2 separate regions of the Homo sapiens genome follow, and region 2 is linked to region 1. The links are contacts of gene promoters, found by promoter capture Hi-C in human tissues and cell types (Jung and others, 2019). All regions are on one chromosome and are shown on one strand. The core of a region is centred on a gene start or on the middle of the fragment in contact, and the rest is flanking DNA. Distances in the headings are between cores, read along the strand shown. Region 1 holds the start of ACAT2 (acetyl-CoA acetyltransferase 2). Region 2 overlaps MAP3K4 (mitogen-activated protein kinase kinase kinase 4).

The links. Contacts are between HindIII fragments. The study calls those that stand out against the background at their distance.
Region 2: a fragment that was not itself captured here is called in contact with the fragment with the promoter of ACAT2 in region 1 in 1 of the 25 tissues and cell types used here (hippocampus).

Annotation. Positions count from the first base shown.
Region 1 is chr6:159,760,776-159,763,503 of GRCh38, reverse strand. It overlaps ACAT2 (acetyl-CoA acetyltransferase 2), which reads right to left and starts at 1,459. Exons shown (of 9, transcript NM_005891.3): 1 at 1,362-1,459; 2 at 451-585. The coding sequence starts at 1,416. SOD2-OT1 (SOD2 overlapping transcript 1) reads left to right here and starts at 1,172. Exons shown (of 2, transcript NR_037166.1): 1 at 1,172-1,510; 2 at 1,868-2,728. It also overlaps a transcript of SOD2 not described here. RefSeq lists enhancers at 1-78, 2,147-2,206 and silencers at 1,487-1,636, 1,657-1,716. The HindIII fragment of the contact is 8,135 bases long and covers 1-2,728 here.
Region 2 is chr6:160,999,775-161,002,474 of GRCh38, reverse strand. The region is part of intron 1 of MAP3K4 (mitogen-activated protein kinase kinase kinase 4); the gene reads right to left. Among named protein-coding and RNA genes, the nearest start is that of MAP3K4-AS1, 8.8 kb to the right of the region's middle. RefSeq lists an enhancer at 547-1,048. The HindIII fragment of the contact is 7,469 bases long and covers 1-2,700 here.

The sequences.
Region 1 (2,728 bases), core at 210-2,709:
GTGCAGTGACACAATCACTGCAGTCTCAAACTCCTGGGCTCAAGTGATCCTCCCACCTCAGCCTCTCCAGTAGCTGGGAGGCACAGGCCATCATACCTGGCTATTTTATTTTTTGTAGAGACGGGGTCTTGCTTTGTTGCCCAGGCTAGTCTCAAACTTCTGGACTCAAGTGATCCTTCCTCCTCCGCCTCCCAAAGTGCTGGGATTACAGGCGGGAGCCACCCTGCCTGGCCAAGAAGCTGAGTCTCAAGCTGGATAGAAGCTACTGACAGGGCTGGAAGAAGGGGGCCAACAGGAGGAATCATAACAGAGGGAACTCTGAGCAAAAGCAAGGAGGCAAGAACTTGAGTGAGTGAGAGAGTGTGTGAGTGTGTGAGAGTGTGTGTGTGTGTGTGTGTTTATGGGCTGTTTCTAATAAGCCTGACTTCTCCTGGAATCACTGAGACTTACCTGCTGCCAAGACATGTCCAAAGATGACCTCAGACACATCTTCCGGAGCCACAGTGGCCCTCTTCAAGACTTCTTTGATGACAGTGGAGCCCAGGTCCTGGACAGGAACAGCAGCTAAGGCACCATTGAAGGAACCTACAATAGAAAGGCGGAGAGCGTGGACATCACAAGCCTGCGGGTAATACGGGAACCACCTACGAGCAGGGGAGCCTCATGACCCTGTTTGGCAAGGCCACGCGAGGAGGCAGTGCCCTCTCCTCCCACACGTTCCTACACCTGCTGGTCTGAGCAAAGGTCAAGGTGGGTGCCACAACTCGCAGCAGCCGAGGGCTGGACAGGCGACCTCCAGAACGGCCTAGGGACGCCGCTGTAGCCCTTCTATTTCCCCAAATCCGAAGGACTGGATGCGACCCCATGCTTCCCAAACAAAAGGAACCGGCGGGTCAAGGGCGTTGAAAACCATGCGGCACGAAGGAGACGAAGTCACGACTTCTAGCCATTGTGTGACAGCCCGACCCCAGCCCAAAGCCGGGCTCAGACCACCTAGCAGTTCCGCCCCTGCCGCAGGCATTACCGATGGCGCCTCCCGGAGCCGGCCAATCAGGGGCCCCGGAGGAGAACACCTCCCTACGCCAACCAATGGGAGAGGCAGGCCACGCGATGGCTCTACCCCGGGAGCCAATCCAAGCACGAGGGACGGAGTGCGCACATCGGGAGAGGAGAGGGTGGGGCTGTAGCACCAGGTCAGGGAACGCGGGAGCCGCAGGGTTCCAGGGATCCCGCGGCTCCTCGCGGCTTGGCCTGACCGGCTTCCTCCACATACGCCCCTCTCCTACACAAGTCCGGCCCTCGGCGCTCCTGCCGAAGCAGCAGGCGCCTCGGACTCTGCGCGGCTCCCGCCGGCCACTCACCTATGATGGTCCGCGCCGCCGAGACGATGACCACAGGATCTGAGCCTGCATTCATCTTGCTTCTCCTGCCGCCGTCTGCCCTGCGCTGCCTGCAAGCTAGGCAAAGCTCCTCCTCGCAGCCCACAGGCCTGCCGCGGGCGGGACCTGAGGTAGCCCCGCCCCTCGCCCTCCACCTCCCCGCGCACCACCTCCCCGCGCATCCCACTGTGCGCAGGCGCAAGGCCGGAGCAGGGGCGGGCGGAGGCGCGCGGGGCGCGGGGCGCGGGGCGCGGGGCGGAAGTGAGGCCGGGGCGCGGGGCGCGGGGCGGAAGTGAGGCCGGGGTCTGGGCTTGCGGGCAGAACCGCGGACCTCGGACGCATTTACAGAGCGCCTGAAACCCCAGTGTTTCTGGACACCCCAATGTTGGAGTTCCCCGACTTGACGTCTTGGGCTTTTTTTTAAAAAATCTTAGGGTTTCTCGAAACAGTAAAGACTGGGGGGTGACAAAGACTTATCTCTCGTTCAGCTCAGGACTGGAATCCCACGGGCGAGAATCTCGAGTGCGAGCCCGGCCCGCGGCGGGTCTCAGCACAGCTCTGATGGGTCCTTTTGCTCTCGGCGGCTTCGGGAGGTCCTATGCGTTTCTCCTGGCGCCAGTCATTCGCTCGCGTGAGGGGCTTGCTAGGAGCGTCTCGGTGCGAGCCCCCTGCCTTCTAAGATCAACTCTGGCTGTGAACGGGTGAGGACGCCGGGAGCGTCTTAGCGTCACAAAAGTTCCTTTGGTTGACGTTTGGACAGTGAAAGGAGCATGTAACAAGTGGGGTCAGTTTTGTTTAAAACCCTTTCTGACTTCCCAGCCTCTTACTGGGCAAAGTTCATAATTTTTCTGAGCTTTCTAGGGTTTCCAGGCAAGCTTATGAGGGGCCACCGTTACAGCAACTTGTTGGGAACACCTGGATAGTGGAACAAGAAAGCTTTGTCACAAAGTCATGAAGGGGAAAACTGTTGACGGACCTGGAGAATCTTCCTGAAGAACTTTAAAGTTGATTGAAAGAATCATTAAATCCTGGAAACCTACATTAAGACTTTGCAGAGATATGCGGATGGGTCAGATAAATCAGAGAAGGTAAAGAGTGTAGGCCCCAGAGGTGGGGCAATAGAGAAGGAAAAAAATTGCATAACAGTGCAATTTCAGGAGAAATCTTTAGGGTCTGGAATAGTGGTGAAATCAGCTGTCTACTCTGCTAAGAACTCAGCAGCACACTGAAGTCTCTTCAGTTGTCTTCAATGTGTTTCCTGTCCCCTAACATATCTGAGTCCAAGGAATTCAAGGAATGCCTCCCGTGGCTTTTGCTCTATTCTATCCCATTTTCCCCTTACTCCCTGG
Region 2 (2,700 bases), core at 67-2,566, 1.2 Mb before region 1:
TTAAGTTACTTTTATTAAGCGAGAAGATTTCACTCACTTTTCTCAGGCAGTAGCTAGATCAATCTAGTTTTATTACGTGAAAAGATTTCATTCATTTTTCTTAGGCAGTGGCTAGATCAATTTGAAAACTATTCCTCTTACAGTGTATAACATTTAAAAAATGAAAAGAAAATTAATCCAAGTTATAAAGACACAAGTTAAATGAACTAAAAAGAATTTCCACAGAAAAAGACAGCTGTGCCTATTAACCTAAACAATCACAATCAGTAGCGTTACAGTTCTTAATTTAGCAGCATGATTTATGATGATCCAAGGGCCAGCCAGAATTCCAAACACCTGTAGGAATAATATGCAGAATAAACCACAACTAAAGTAAGAGAGAGAATCTGGAAAAGCTAGATCCAAAAAAAAAAAAAAAAAAAAACCTTTTTCTTATTTCTATGGCTTCTGCAGACGTTGGGGGGGAAATGTTTCTTGAATGGAGATTATTGCAGCTATTTTTAAAAGTATCCAGCCTCAATGCATATTTGGTGGCTTTTTAAGAAAATCACTATAGGATTTGCCTCTTTTACCTTAAGCCCAAAAAGAGGAAGAAAGAGAAATGTAATAAAACAGCTAATACTGAGCACTTACTATAGAACAGGAATTACTTAATCTTAATAACAACCTAGGAAGATGTTATTATTTTTGCCTTTCAAATGCGGAAACAGACTGAGAGAGGCTAAATTACTTCCCCACAATCCTACTGCTAGCAATCAAAAGGTAACATTCAAAGCCTATCTACTACCAAAACCTATGCTCTGCCTCCTTCATACAAGTGTCAGCAAAGAACCTGCTGTTAGGCAACGAGCCAGGAATTAGGCAATAAAAGTAAGCAAAACAACAGACGATGCCCCAGCCCTCATGGAGTTTACTGAAGGCAAACATAATAAACAAATATGTACACAAATATATAATTACAAATGGTGGCAAACTGCAGGGGCTCTGAGGACACATAACAGAAGGATCTCATCTATTCTGGGGGGAAGCGGGGGAAATGTCAAGGTGGACCCTAAAGTAAGCAATGCTTAAGACCTAAAGTGAAACTGCTGTACCCTAACATAGATTACATATGACATATATATCATGCATATACAGAATATATAGATGTGAAATATATTGTTTGAATTATTTGATAACATTTATAACACATAGCTTGAGACATACATGATTCCACCTATAATTAATAACTTGATAAAAATATTTTTGTAAATATTTTTTGTAAATTTTTCAGTATTTGGATTTGGATTTCTTATATATGTGTACACATATATATGTATATACATATATACTTATATACACTTGTATTATATATGTGTATATAATATATATTATATATTATATACATATGTGTATATTATAATATATAATATATATTATATACATATGTGTATATTATAATATATAATATATATTATATACATATGTGTATATTATAATATATAATATATATTATATACATATGTGTATATTATATATAATATGCACTATGTGTGCATATATATGCATATTATACACTATATATGTGTGTGTACATATATGTATAGTATAATATACATATATGTATGTGTACACATGTGTATATGTGCGTACACATGTGTATGTGTGCATACACATGTGTGTATATATGGGTGTACACATGTGTGTATATATGGGTGTACACATATGTGTGTATACAGATGGGTGTACACATATATGTGTGTGTATGTGTGTGTATATATGGTGTACACATATATGTGTGTATATATATCAGGGGAAAATGAGTTCCTTTCTTTTCTTAAGGACTGCTCTATGTGAAAAATTTTAAACACAGGTTACTGTTTCAGAGAAAGATCAACAAATTACCTAAATTATTCACATAATGCCAATCCCAATTTTACTCTAAAATTAATCCTAGATTTTAAACTGATCTTTACAATTCTTGTAGTTTAAGGATAAGCAGCCAAGAGAACAACCTTGAGAGACAAGCATAGATACATTCTTACTCTTGCCTTCGGGTAACAATGCTGTCTTCAAGAAGTAAGTATTGCCGAGCTTCTTCAAAATTCCATTTGATCATTTAGTAGACAAATAGTGTACTTGTTCTCCTGACTCAGTCTCAAGGGACAAGGTACAAAGTATAACAGCATCCATTTTATTTTGGGTAGAGCTATGCTTTTAAAACTGAGGGTCACAACCTATTTGTGGGTAATAAAATCAATTTAGTAGGTTATGATGAACAATTTTTAATAGAACAGAATAAGAATTATTTGAGTATCATATATTGCAAGGTCAAATACTGTTTCAAAATTGTTTTCTTTTGGTTATAAGGCACACACACACTGTCATAAAATATATTTCTTACTGTAGGTCACGACCATAAACACAGTTTCAAAACCACTACTACAGACCAGAAGTTAGAATCTTACTGTCTTCTTGATGTACAGACCGACGCCTGAAAATAACAACGTATCTGAAAATTTCTGAGCATTGGCTCTTCTTTATTCTGCGAGCAAGAAATAAAAGTTTCACGGGGGAAAAACGTTGTGGATGATGAGTTTTAAGAGGATTTCATATTTTCTATTTGCATTTTTTTCTAAAAACAAATCTTTCATCTCGTTTGATCCTGTTGAGTCCAATTCATCCAGAAAATACAGCATTTCACGGTTGCCAAGTAACTGT